Regions from separate parts of the Homo sapiens genome. Here region 1 is linked to region 2. The links are contacts of gene promoters, found by promoter capture Hi-C in blood cells and fetal thymus (Javierre and others, 2016). All regions are on one chromosome and are shown on one strand. The core of a region is centred on a gene start or on the middle of the fragment in contact, and the rest is flanking DNA. Distances in the headings are between cores, read along the strand shown. Region 1 overlaps SMG1-DT (SMG1 divergent transcript). Region 2 holds the start of ARL6IP1 (ARL6 interacting reticulophagy regulator 1).

Region 1 (6,932 bases), core at 3,113-5,612, 140 kb after region 2:
TAACTCTAAAGAGTTAAAGAGACTACCAAATAAGGGAAGGATAAATATTTCACTTCAGAACTTCTAGTTGAAATAGGATCATTTAGCTTCTTTGGGACACTGCTATCTATGTCTTAGCTGAAATGATTTCTTCATCCCATACCAGGGAAGCAAATGGAGGCTTATTCCATAAAGTGTTTTGTGCTGTATAATTTGAAGGTCACACTGCTTGGCATAGTGTTTTCACCATCCCCCAGGCATACCACGTCTCAGAGGACCCTCCCTGCTGGTCCCTGGAAGAGGCTTCTCAGATAAAGCAGGACTTAAGGTAGTTTTTAGATGAAGGGGAGCAGATGGCTGAGTATTACATCACCTCAGGTAAAGGAAACAGGGATATGAAAATAATAGGATTGTAGAAAAATAATAGTCTAATCTCCAAATTATCAACAAGTATTGGGGAAGTGTTTACTCCCAGCAAACATCAGGGATGGAAGGGGACTAATAAAAGCCTGGCCCTGTACTACTCAATTTAAAAGCAGATACCATCTTTTTTACCTTTGTGTCAAACTAATAACAGCCACTTACTAAGAATTTTATTTTTATTTCTTTTCTTTCCTTTCTTTCTTTTCTTTCTTTCTTTCTTTTCTCTTTTTCTCTTTCTTCTTTTTTTGATGGAGTCTAGTCCGTCACCCAGACTGGAGTGCAGTGGCACGATCTCGGCTCATTGCAACCTCCACTTCCCGGGTTCAAGCAATTCTCCTGCCTCAGCCTCCCGAGTAGCTGGGGTTACAGGTGCCTGCCGCCATACCCGGCTAATTTTGCATTTTTAGTAGAGATGGGGTTTCACTATGTTGGTCAGGTTGGTCTCGCACTCCTGACCTCAGGTGATCCACCCACCTCAGCCTCCCAAAGTGCTGGGATTACAGGCATGAGCCACTGTGCCCAGTCTCTCTCTTTTTCTTTCTTTCTTTTCTTTACTTTTTTATTTTATTTTTATTTTTTTTGAGACAGGGTCTTGCTCTATTACCCAGATTGAGTTGCAGTGCTGCAAACACAGCTCACTGCAGCTCAACCTCTTGGGCACAAGTGATTTTCTCACCTTAGCCTCCCAAGTAGCTGGGACTACAGGTGTATTCCACAACATACACTGGGCTAGTTGGATTTTTTTTTTTTTTGACGGAGTTTCACTCTTGTTACCCAGGAATGGAGTGAAATGGCGTGATCATGGCTCACTGCAACCTCTGCATCCAAGATTCAAGCAATTCTCCTGCCTCAGCCTTCCAAGTAGCTGGGATTACAGGCATGTGCCACCACACTGGCTACTTTGTATTTTAGTAGAGACAGGGTTTCTCCATGTTGGCCAGGCTAGTCTCGAACTCCTGACCTCAGGTGATCCAGTCACCTCGGTCTCCCAAAGTGCTGGGATTACAGGTGTGAGCCACCATGTCCAGCCTTTTTATTTTATTTATTAATTTTTTTTTTGAGACAGAGTCTCACTCTGTCGCCCAGGCTGGAGTGCAGTGGCACGATTTCAGCTCACTACAACCTCCACCTCCCGGGTTCAAGCGATTCTTCTGCCACAGCCTCCTGAGTAGCTGAGATTACAGGCACTTGCCACCATGCCCGGCTAATTTTTTGTATTTTTAGAAGAGAAAGGGTTTCACCATGTTGGCCAGGCTGGTCTCCATCTTCTGACCTCGTGATCTGCCCGCCTCGGCCTCCCAAAGTGCTGGGATTACAGGCGTGAGCCACCCTGCCCGCCCAGAGATGGGGTCTTTCTATGTTGCCCAGACTGATCTTGAGCTCCATGCCTTAAGCAATCCCCCCACCTCCCACAGAGGAGCTGGAGACCAGCCTGACCAACATGGTGAAACCCCGTCTCTACAAAAATGCAAAAATTAGCCAGGCATGATGGCAGGTGCCTGTAATCCCAGCTACTTGGAAGGCTGAGGTGGGAGAATCGCCTGAACCCGGAAGGTGGAGGTTATTATGAGCTGAGATCATGCCACTGCAGTCCAGCCTGGATGACAGAGCAAGACTCCATCTCACACACACAAAAAAAAAAAAAAAAAAAGAAGAAGAAGAAAAAGAAGAGAAATACACCAGCTGGGCCTGGTAACACATGCCTGTAATCCCAGGACTCTGGGAGGCCAAGGTGAGTGATCACTTGAGTCCAGAATTTCAAGACCAACCTGGGCAACATGGAGAAACCCTGTCTCTACAAAAAAAAAAAAAAAAAAAAAAAAAAATTTAGCCATGCATGGTGGTACACACCTGTAGTCCCAGCTACTCAGGATGCTGAGGTGAGAGAATTGCTTGAGCCTAGGAGGTGGAGGTTGCAGTGAGCCAAAATTGCACCACTACACTCCAGCATGAGTGATAGAGTAAGACCCTATCTTAAAAATAATAATAATAAAGAAAAGAAATAGACTTATAGCTATCTATATATATGTTATGTAATGTTATATAGATATAGGAAAAGGCTGGAAGGATATTGTGACAGTTAATTTTAATGTGTCAAATTGACTGGGGCACAGGGTGCCCAGATATTTGGTTGAACAGTATTCTGGGTGTGTCTGTGAGGATATTTTTTTTTTCATTACTTTTTGAGACGGGGTCTTGCTTTGTCAGCCAGGCTGGAGTGCAGTGGTGCAATCATGGCTCACTGCAGCCTTGACCTCTCAGGCTCCAGTGAGCTTCCTCCCTCAGCCTCAGGTGTAGCTAGGACCACAGGTGTGTGCCACCATGCCCAGCTAATTTTTTAATTTTTTGTAGAGACAAGGTCTCACTATGTTGCCCAGGCTGGTCTCAAACTCCTGGGCTCAAGCGAGTCTACTCCTTCAGATTCACAAAGTGTTGGGATTACAAGGCATGAGCCACCACACCCAGTCTGTGAGGGTATTTTTGGATGAGATTAACTTTTATTTATTTATTTGTTTGTTTTTTAAACAGAGTCTCCCTCTGTTGCCCAGGCTGGAGTGCAGTGGCATGATCTCGGCTCACTGCAACCTCCGCCTCCCGGGTTCAAATAATTCTCCTGCCTCAGCCTCCAGAGTAGCTGGGATTACAGGTGCACACCACCATGCCTGGCTAATTTTTGTATTTTCAATAGAGATGGGGTTTCACCATATTGGCCAGGCTGGTCTGAAACTCATCTCACGTGATCTGCCCACCTCAGCCTCCCAAATTGCTGGGATTACAGGCGTGAGCCACCGCACCTGGCCAATTTTTGTGTTTTTTATAGAGATGGGGTTTTGCTATATTGGCTAGGTTAGTCTCAAACTCCTGACCTCAAGTGATCCTCCTGCCTTGGCCTCCCAAAGCACCCATGTGTGCCACCACACCCGGCCCATAGTAATTCTTCAAACATCGACCAACTGGTGGTTCTTGGCTGCTGAGAAGCCAGACCGGACAATGTGTGTGCACCTGCTATTCTCCATTGGTCCCTGCAAATCTATTCTCCATCTTTCTCCATTCAGCTCTGCAACCCAGAGAGTGACCTGCATGGAGCGTGCCAGCTGAATCCCTTGTCCTGTGTCTTCTGGCTGAGTTCTACCATAGGAAACACCGCCACGTGGGAGAACAGGAAGACATTGATGTCTGGGTGCTTATTCCTAAAGCTTCCTCCCTGAGGTCACCTGGAGGTTGCTGCATCTCTCTACTGAAGGCCACAGTTCCTGTCATATGACTGTCTCCATCCAGCTGCCTTCTCTAAGTTCCAGCAACCACTGTCTCTCTCCCTTGATCTTTGAGCCTAAAGGTAATGCAGGCTCCCTGATGTTGCTAGCCCTAGGATACTGCAGCATTCTTTGTTAGTTTACTAAAACCCTCTGTAAATAACCCTTTGCTACACTTTCATCATCTTTCTTTCTTTCTTTTTTAGAGACAAGGTCTCCCTCTGTCACCCAGGCTAGGGTGCAGTGGCACAATCACGGCTCAGGACCGGTGCAAGAAGGGAAGGTTGCATTCATAAGTTAGCAAACTTCAGAAAGCTCTTTGAAAAAAAAAAAAAAAAAAGAATCTTATTACCATTTTGTTTTTGTAGAAAGCCCACTTGATAAAAGTATTAATAACACACATGAGAAAGAGCTCACAGTGTTTTCCAGAAAAAAACACTTTGATTCTATAAAAGAGGTCAGTAGACTACAATATGAAGAATCCTTCTGTTGGCTTAACTTTTAGACTATATGACAAGTTCTCTGACTATAAAGACACTGATCAAAAGAACTCAGTTTAGCACAATATCCAAAGTCCAAAGTACAAGCAATAAAAGAAGAATCAGGTAAATTAGACTACATCAAAATGTTAAACTTTTTGCCTCAAAGGACACCATCAACAGGGTGAAAAGACAAAGCATGGAATGGGAGAAAATATTTGCAAATCATATATTTGATAAAGGGTTAATATCTAGAATATATAAAGAGCTCCTACAACTCAACAACAACAACAAAAAAAAACCCAAAAATACAAACAAACAAAACCAACTCTTTTTACTTAAAAAAAGGGGCGGAAGTTTTTTGTTTGTTTTGTTTTTGTTTTGTTTTGAGACAGGGTTTCACTCTGTCGCCAAGGAGTGCAGTGGCACCATCTCAGCTCACTGAAACCTCCACCTCCTGGGTTCAAACGAAAATATTTCTTTTCGTTTCTGTTTTTGTTGTTGTTGTTGTTGTTGTTGTTATTGTTGTTGTTTTTGAGGCAGAGTTTCAGTCTTTTGCCCAGACTGGAGTGAAGTGGCGGGCGCAATCTCGGCTCACTGCAACCTCCACCCCCCTGGGTTCAAGCGATTCTCCTGCCTCAGCCTCCCGAGTAGCTGGGATTACAGGCACCCGCCACCACGCCCAGCTAATTTTTGTTATTTTTAGTAGAGACAGGGTTTTGCCATGTTGGCCAGGCTGGTCTCAAACTACTGACTTCAGGTGGTCCACTCGCCTCACCCTCCCAAAGTGCTGGGATTACAGGCGTGAGCCACGGCGCCCGGGCAACTTTGTCCATTTTCGCCAGGAAGGCTGAAAGAGTTCTGAGGTGCTGCTTGATGCTGTAGTAAATCTCTTCTCTGTTTCTGTTTGGATGAAAGGAGTATATCTATATTCATGGCGCACTTAGAAAATGTAATTTTCTCTTACAGGTAAACAAATGATGGAGGAGGGAAGCTTAAGGGACAGGAGATTATGTAGGTGATAGTTTCTGGGCCACTTCCTGTTTTAAGTACCTTTTTTATTCCCCGCTTTCCAATTTGTAAAACATTGATGTGCTCACTGACATTGGACAGGGCACTTAATCTCCCAAAACCTTCATTTGCTCATCTGCAAACTCAAGGGTTTGAGTTAGACCGTGGCTTAGTGGTTTTCCAACTTCATTTTATTTTATTGAGACAGGGTCTCACTCCATCGGCCAGGCTGGAGTGCAATGGTGCGATCTCGTCTCGCTGCAACCTCTGCCCTCTGGGTTCAAGTGATTCTCCTGCTTCAGCCTCCTGAGTAGCTGGGATTACAGCACCCGCCACCACGCCCAGCTAATTTTTTTTGTTGTTGTTTTTTGAGATGGAGTTTTGCTCTTGTTGCCCAGGCTGTAGTGCAATGGCGCGATCTCAGCTCACCGCAACCTCCACCTCCTGCCTCAAGCAATTCTCCTGCCTCAGCCTCCGGAGTAGTTGGGATTACAGGCATGTGCCACCACATCCAGCTAGTTTTGTGTTTTTAGTAGACACGGGGTTTCTCCATGTTGGTCAGGCTGGTCTCCAACTCCCGACCTCGGGTGATCCCCTCGCCTTGGCCTCCCAAAGTGCTGGAATTACAAGACTGAGCCACCGCCCAGGGCCAAACCCAGGCATTTCTGACTCCAGTTGTGCCCTCATGTCTTAAGATGTAAAATCTTCCCGGAGGTAGCACCAGAAAGTTCAGGATGCAGAGATAGCGTGGGGCCTCATGATCTTTTAAAAAATATATTGAGCATTTATTACATGCTGCACCCCGCACTTTAAATGACCTGCAAGTTTATTATTATTATTTATTTATTTATTTACTTTTTTGAGACAGAGTCTCGTTCTGTCGCCCAGGCTGGAGTGCAATGGCGCGATCTTGGCTCACTGCAAGCTCCGCCTCCCGGGTTCATGCCATTATCCTGCCTCAGCCTCCCAAGTAGTCGGGACTACAGGTGCCCGCCACCACGCCAGGCTAATTTTTTGTAGTTTTCAGTAGAGACGGGGTTTCACCGTGTTAGCCAGGTTGGTCTTAATCTCCTGACCTCGTGATCCGCCTGCCTCAGCCTCCCGAAGTGCTGGGATTACAGGCGTGAGTCACCGTGCCCGGCCCTCCTGCAACTTTAAATGACCATAAGGATGATTCATCTATCACCTGCTACCATCAGATAACTGATGGCAATAAATACCTGAGTTTGAAGATATAAATTTGAAAAGAGAGGAAATACTACTTGATTCCTAGGATCAATACTACCCTCCCCACCATTTTCAAAAATAATCTCATTCTGTGGTCTAAGAAAAATAAATAAATTATAAAATAAATCATTAACACTAATCTTTGAAACAGTATTTCCCAAATTATGTTTCTTAGAACATAGCCCCTCGAGGTATGAAAATGGGACTGGGTGTGGTGGTGCATGCCTGTAATCCCAGCACTTTGGGAGCCCAAGGTGGGAGGATAGCTTGAGCCCAGGAGTTTCAGACTAGCCTGAGCAACACAGCAAGACCTCCATAACTCCCCGCCCCTCCCCCTCAAAAGAATTAGCTGGGTGTGGTGATGAACATCTGTAGTCCCAGCTACTTGGGAGGCTGAGGTGGGAGGATCACTTGAGCCCAGGGAGTCAAGGCTGCAGTGGGCTGTGATTGCGCCACTGCACTCCAGCCTGGACAGCAGAGGGAGACTCTCTCTCAAAAAAAAAGAAAAAGAAAAAAATATATAATTTGAGCCACATATGTAATTCTAAACTTTCTAGTA
Region 2 (7,110 bases), core at 2,176-4,675:
TTAACTATTCACCGCCTCTCAGAGATATTTGCCATTTTTCTTCTAATTTTCTCACAAGTGGCTTTCCAGAGGCTTTGTGACATGCTGATATCATAGCTGCAGTGGTTAAGTATATATCAATGGACAAAAGCTCTTTGGAGTTCTCAGCACTTTTTTAAGAGTTTAGGGAGGTGGGGGACTAGGGGAGGGATAGCATTAGGAGAAATACCTAATGTAGATGAAGGGTTGATGGGTGCAGCAAACCACCATGGCACATGTATATATACCTATGTAACAAACCTGTACATTCTACACATGTTTCCCAGAACTTAAAGTATAATAACAAAAAAAGAGTTTAAGTGTCTGGAGGACAAAAAGTTTGCGAGTCACTGATTTACTCAAGTGCTTTAGGTTACCAAGTTTACAGAAGTACTACAAATTCTGGAAACTAGAAGTGCTTATGAGAAACATTCTTTATGGGTTCTTTATGGGTTATATATTACAGAAGACTTAAGGCACTCCCACAAACAGAAGCTATATATTAAAAAGTCTTTATTAATAAGAAGCACAACCCATAGTAATCTAATAGCTCACTTACAGAAACACCAAAGAAACCACACCCATGATGGCAGGTGGAAACCAGGCTCTTTCCCATCGGAGGACTTTATCAGCCATCAGCATCACTTCTCCCCATCCTTGCAGCTGTTCTTCCAGACTTGCAGTCTCTGCAGCCTAAATACCACCGACATTTAAAGTGATCATTTTACCACTCTCAACATTTTTGTGGTTCATAGACTTCAATTATTTTAAAGCTCCAAATACAAAAAATAACCTCTTAACCAAATTGCCAATTTTAAACTAGTTGGTTTCTGAAAAACTGCAATTTCAAAGATGAAAATACAATGGGTTTTTTTGTTTTTTGTGTTTTTTTTTTTGAGACGGAGTCTCGCTCTGTCACCCAGGCTGGAGTGCAGTGGGGAGATCTCGGCTCACTGCAGCCTCCGCCTCCTGGGTTCAAGCGATTCTCCTACCTCATACTCCTGAGTAGTTGGGACTATAGGCGCCCGCCACCACGCCCGACTAATTTTTTGTAGAGACAGGGTTTCACCATGTTGGCCAGGCTGGTCTCAAACTCTGGACCTCAAGTGATCCACTCACCTCGTCTTCCCAAAGTGCTGGGATTACAGGTGTGAGCCACCAGGCCCAGCCTAAATATCCTTTAATGGTCACTTTTCTAGTCCAAGCACTGGGCTATTCTTTATATACATGATGTAACTTAATCCTTACAGAGAGCCACAAGGTAGGGATAATTAGACTCAATTTACAATTAAAGAAAGTGAGCTCAAAATGGTTTACTTTCTCAAAGTCATGCGGGGAATCGTGGCAGTGCCCAGAGTATTAATAAAATGAAATAACTTTTTTTAAGTTTGTTTATTTCAGATGGTTAGAATTGATCCGTTGTTTTTGTCATCTTATTGATTTAAACCCTTCTAAATCCATTAGGAAAGACTTTCCCTGAATAGCATTCAATTTCTAAAATAGCTCTTTGTGTAATGGAATCACTCAGATGTTGACATTCATTGGACAATTAAGGAAAACTACTTTCACCAAATTAAGGTGGCATTTTACGGTCAATATACCTCCTCAATACAGTGTTTCTTACCACTCAGGATGTCATTTTGATTATACTTCAAATTTCTCTGACTCTGAACAGCCGAAAGTGGGCCTCTAGGATGAGCTAATGTGGCAAAAGCCCTTAAAGCTGGTTTTGGTAAAGGAAGAAAAATTTAGAATAAGAAACTCAAGTGTCTCTATGTTATCAGGCTGGATGCAGTGGATCACGCCTGTAAACCCAGCACTTGGCGGGTCGGGGGGGATTGCTTGAGCCCAGGAGATCGGGACCAGCCTGGGCTGAGACCTTGTCTCTTTGTAAAAGTCATTCACTGGAAATCATGCAAATGACAGAACAAGGCACTTAATCTTAACAAAGACGCTCGCTATCTGTGCCACGCTGAGCACTAGTGTGATCTCAATATTTCTGACTTTATATTCCATGCTTAATACTAGTGAAAGAGACTACTATGTGTGGGCACTCTGCTGAGCATTCATATTTATACTTCAATTAATCTTCCTAACAACCCTTAAAAAAAGGTGTTATTACTGTCCCCATTTTACCAAGGAGGAAACAGATACAGAGGTTAACTGATCTGCATCCAAGAAATCCACGACCAAAGGCGTTGCTTTCCTTAGAGTTATATTGCTCTGCTGGAAGGAGAGTTGGGAAGCAGGAGCTCTAGCCCAGGATTTGTCATTTCAACAGGGCTTGAGCTACTTCTCTGTGCTTCAATTAATCCTCTTAAAAAGATCCACGCTGAGAACTAACTATGCTAGAAGGAGCGTGTGTTTAAAGGAACAAACCATGCATTTCTAAAAGCAAATATAAAATCACGCACAATCAAAACTGCCCTGAAGTCACGTCATTGGCCAGCGTCTGGGGTCTTGGAAGTTCAAAAGCCCCTAAGTAAATTCTTTGGTTCCGTTTTTCATTGCTGGTATGTGACCTACAGTCACCAGGGAAGGGCAACTGAGAATATGCAAGGATATTTCTCTTGTTTTTTGCCCACAAGGTGCGCTTAAATTCATAACAAATAAAAATGTGTCCGCCTATGATACCATCTCACTGCAGTTCCTTCGGATCCCTGCTTATTACTCTAAAGCTGTTTCCAGTAGTCCTGTGACCCCACCCCCGCCAGACTTCCAAATTCCAGACAAACGCCAAGACATCCCATTGTCTGTTCAGCTGGACCCCGCTCCCGGTTCCCCACGGTGAGCTCGCAGCCTCCCTGTCGTTTTAAGTTGTACCAGCTCTAAGATAAATTCTGGGCAGTAGCCCTTTGACCCTCCACCCTTGTCCAAGTTTTAGGGGGAAAAGAAGGCAGGCACATCCAGGTTAAGATCAAAGACGGGGAAAGCCGAATACGGCTGGGGCCTGAGCCGCGAAAGCGCTGGACAGGCCCCAGGAGGCCTTCTGCCCCCACCCGCACCCCAGGCTAGTGTCGCAGCCCCTCTGCCTCCCACTTCCTCCTCGACTCCTACTCGCGGTGATGAATCACGCGCCCTCCTCGCCCCGTCGCGCACCGTCCCCAGGAAAGGTAAGGGTTCGACACCCAGGAGTCACCCAAGAAGCCCGAGGGCCAGGCATCGTCGCCTGCCCAGGGAGAGAAGGGCCGGGCCCGCGGCGGGTGACAGGGACGAGGCCGCGGTGTTTGAGCCCACGGACGTCTGGAGGCCTCGCTCGGCTCCCGGGGGACAGGCAGCCAGGACTCACCAGCAGGTTGGTGCTGCGATTATCTCCCTCCGCCATCGTCTCGGGGATGCAGTCTCTACAAGCGCAGGCCACCTCCCCAACGAGTCCTCCAACCGAAACCCGCACACCAACCACAACCCGAGGGAACGCCCCGCAGGCTGCTTATATGGGTCGGCCGCCCTTCCCGACGGCCCCCGCGACGCTCGCTCCTCATTGGACAGACCGAGCTTACGCCTCAAGGAAGCCGGGCCAACCGAAGCTCAGCGCATGGCTTGAAATCGAGGTCAAAGGAGACAGAGGCAGCGCCGGGCCGAGGGGGAGGGGACACGGAGTGCCCAATCAGCGCCCAGGGACTGCGCGACGCCCCGCCCAGCGCTGTGGGAAGCGGTTCAACCGCCTCTGCAGGGGGCGCTGTCCCTCAGTGGTTCTCCGGCTCTTGCCGCTGCGGTGGCTTTGGGTCCCTCTTCGTCTGGCTTTCGCAGCCGAGGAGACTCTCTGGAAAATGGGCTACTCGAAGAGAGATGCTCCGTTGCCTCAGGCGGAGGGCGGGGACGCCGGGCCTGCGACACTTCATCTTTTCCTGGCCCCGAGGTGGCTGGGATCCGTTCCACCTTCGGCCCAGTTCCCCAGCCAGGCCCCTGAGCCGTTTAGCCCGGATTTGCGACCCGTGAGGTTTTGAGGACAAGTGAAAAGAGCTCTTTGTGTGGATTTTGCTGCAATGTTTCTCTCCTACCCAGTAGGAATGAGGCCTTAGCTTGCGCGGAAAAACCCAGGCCTGGTTTGAGAACGTGTGAAAATGCACCGCCTTCTAAGTGGCTTTATTATACGTGGATGTTTAAGTTACTTAAACTACAAGCTCCCTCTCCAAAAGGATTCTTTTTTTTTTTTTCTTTTTTTTTGAGACGGAGTCTCGCTATGTTGCCCAGCCTGGAGTGCAGTGGCGCGATCTTGCTCACTGCAAGCTCTGCCTCCCGGGTTCACGCCATTGTCCTGCCTCAGCCTTCCAAGTAGCTGGGACTACAGGCGTCCGCCAACACGCCTGGCTAATTTTTTGTATTTTTAGTAGAGACGTAGTTTCACCGTGTTAGGATGGTCTCGATCTCCTGACCTCGTGATCCGCCCGCCTCGGCCTCCCAAAGTGCTAGGATTACAGGCGTGAGCCACCGCGCCCGGCCAGAATTGTTTGTTTGTTTGTTTGAGACGAAGGAGTCTCGCGCTCCGTGGCCCCGGCTGAAGTGCAGTGGCGCGATCTCTGCTCACTGTAACCTCCATCTCCCGGGTTCAAGTGATCCTGGCGCGTCAGCCTCCCGAGTAGCTGGAATTACAGACGCCCGTCACTACGCCCGGCTAATTTTTGTATTTTAATAGAGACGGGGTTTCGCTATTTTGGCCAGGGTGGTCTGGACCTCCTGACCTCAAGATATCCGCCCGCCTTAGCCTGCCAAAGTGCTGGGATTACAGGCGTGAGCTACCGCGCCCGGCCAAAAGGATAGTTCTTGACACGACCTTTCTTCCATTAGAGGTCAAGCTAAGAAAATATGTAAACCCTCTCACAAGCAGTAGAATTCCTAGGCAGTTTAGGAACTGTGTTGAGGCACTTGTACATCTTTTCTATCCAGGATTTCAAATGCAGTAACAAGTGCTTTGATCTTTTTTTTTTTTTTTTTTTTTTTTTTTTCTTTTTTTCTTGAGACACAGCCTGGCTCTGTTGCCCAGGCTGTAGTGCAGTAGCCACCGCGCCCGGCCGATTTTTCATCGTTTGATACAAACAGAATCATGCCAAATGTCCGGATCAGATGTTTGTTTCAGGTGAATTAACTATAGTTTTAACTTCCAACCTTTTATCTTTTTTACAGGTTTTAACTTCCAATCTCATGGTCATTTGTATTCGGCCATTGAATTTAAATTTATTTTTAAAATGTTCCTTAAGTAACCACCAGGTTCTTAAATGTTCAAGGAAGTCATAAATGTGAGAGAACATAGCTGCAGACCACATACTGCCCCTAAGAGAGCTGGGCAAGGGCAGGAGCATTGTGAATTTCATGGAAGGGTGTCAATTTGCTGTGGGTCTTTCGGGGAAAGGGGAGTGAAGTATCTGAATCAGGGAGAAGCACTTGAAAAAAAGTCTTTGCAAGGGAAGCTGACTGTTCAATAAAGTGCCACTTTGGAGAATGTTGGGGTAAAGAAGTTGTAAAGGCAGGATACAGCCAGTTGACAGAGACGCTATTTGGAGAGATTTTAAAGCTATGGAGTCTGAGGAGCAGGTTCTTCTCCACGCCCCTAAAAAAAAAAAAATACAAATGGGGAGGCAGGGAAGATCCCTTGAGCCCAGGAAATAGAGGCTGCAGTGAGCTATGATTGCACCTATGCACTTAAGCTTGGGTGACAGAGCAAAAAACCTGTCTCAAAAAAAAAAAAAAAAAAAAAAGTCAAAAAGATCGAAGCAATCAGCAGCCACATAATTAGTGAATATGTTGAGCACTGGGTATGTGATCTTGCTAGACCCACAGTAATAGCCACTTCCAAAAGAGAGGGTATTTTATTAGGGTTTAAAACTGACATTTCTACTTTTGGGAAATCAGCTTTTGCTGCAGAATATGCTTCTTGTTTTCACCCAAGTTTTCCATGCACAACTTAAGACTTGTTAACACCAGCTTGTGAAATGAAGGTAGGTGAAAAAAACAGAAGCAACTGAAACAGCAGTTTCTCCACTTAGTATTTTTTGTTACTTAACAATGTATTCCCATACCTATTTCTAAATGCACAGCCCTGCTATATGGTCTCTCACTAAATTTCCGATTGGTCTAATTATTAAAAAACACCCACCCTTAACATAGCTTTCTTTAGAGCTTTGTTTTTGTCCTACAGAGACAGGATGTGATCTTTTGAAATGTGCCAGATGACTAAGCAGTTAACACAAATCTTACTAACTTCATTTAGCAGCAACAAATGCAATCTCCAAGATATAAAGCCAAGCTGGACATTTTCTATTTTTTTTCAGAGGTTTCACACTCCAAGGAATGCACCTATCTGTCAATAATGATCTACGGGAATTTTGTTTTTAAATACTGCCAAAATTAAGCTTTATAAATTGGGCCTTAACACAAAGAATTTTATCGTTGAAGTAGAATTTCTACTGCTATTCAAAAATACAACAGATGTTTGAGAATAAAATAGTTACTTTTCTGAGAATTTAGGGGTCTTTTTTGAGGTATTAGTGCTATTCAGAAAAAAAAGACTAGGCTTGGCTCGGCTTAGTGGCTCAGGCTTGTAATCCCAGCACTTTGGGAGGCTGAAGTGGGAGTGTAACTTGAGCCCAGGAGTTCGAGATCAGCCTGGGCAACATAGGGAGACCCTGTCGTTTTGTTTTTTCAAGCTACCCAGGTTCCAAAAGGTTTCAAGTTTTCCAAAATCTATTTTGACCAATAAATTCAGAACTTAAATGCTGTATCTTTTGAGACTGAACCTTTATTTTCTGAAAAACAGGTATTTCATACAATCTTTGCCATGTTAATGCAAATATGCACAAAGTAGGCATGTATTTGTTTTCCAAAAGATGCATTATGAACATTTTCAGGAAGCTGGTGTGATTTATTCAACTTTTAAATACAATCACAAAATTATATCCATCAGGAGGCATTACAACCTTTTGTACAGAAAAGCCACTATTTATACATTGTTACTAAGACAAGGAAGATTCAGTTCAACTCAACTTGCTCTTAGAATAAGGGTAAAAAGTAAATTAACAAGTAAGTGAAGTATGATGTTGTTGCCACTGACATTACAGGTGGAAATATAAGGGAAATTTAAACCAGAAAAATGAC

What was found. The method cuts DNA at HindIII sites, captures the fragments that hold promoters and counts their contacts. A CHiCAGO score of 5 or more calls a contact.
Region 1: a contact is called between a fragment that was not itself captured here and the fragment with the promoter of ARL6IP1 in region 2, in 13 of 17 cell types (neutrophils, fetal thymus, activated CD4 T cells and 10 more). The highest score is 12.0, in neutrophils.

Annotation. Positions count from the first base shown.
Region 1 is chr16:18,933,398-18,940,329 of GRCh38, forward strand. It overlaps SMG1-DT (SMG1 divergent transcript), which reads left to right. Exons shown (of 2, transcript XR_001752094.2): 2 at 3,459-3,819. Among named protein-coding and RNA genes, the nearest start is that of SMG1, 10 kb to the left of the region's middle. The HindIII fragment of the contact is 1,530 bases long and covers 3,598-5,127 here.
Region 2 is chr16:18,798,124-18,805,233 of GRCh38, forward strand. It overlaps ARL6IP1 (ARL6 interacting reticulophagy regulator 1), which reads right to left and starts at 3,426. Exons shown (of 6, transcript NM_015161.3): 1 at 3,308-3,426; 2 at 578-711. The coding sequence starts at 3,343. It overlaps SMG1 (SMG1 nonsense mediated mRNA decay associated PI3K related kinase), which reads right to left. Exons shown (of 63, transcript NM_015092.5): 63 at 6,737-7,110. RefSeq lists enhancers at 2,930-3,049, 3,270-3,349, 3,730-3,969. The HindIII fragment of the contact is 8,806 bases long and covers 1-5,661 here.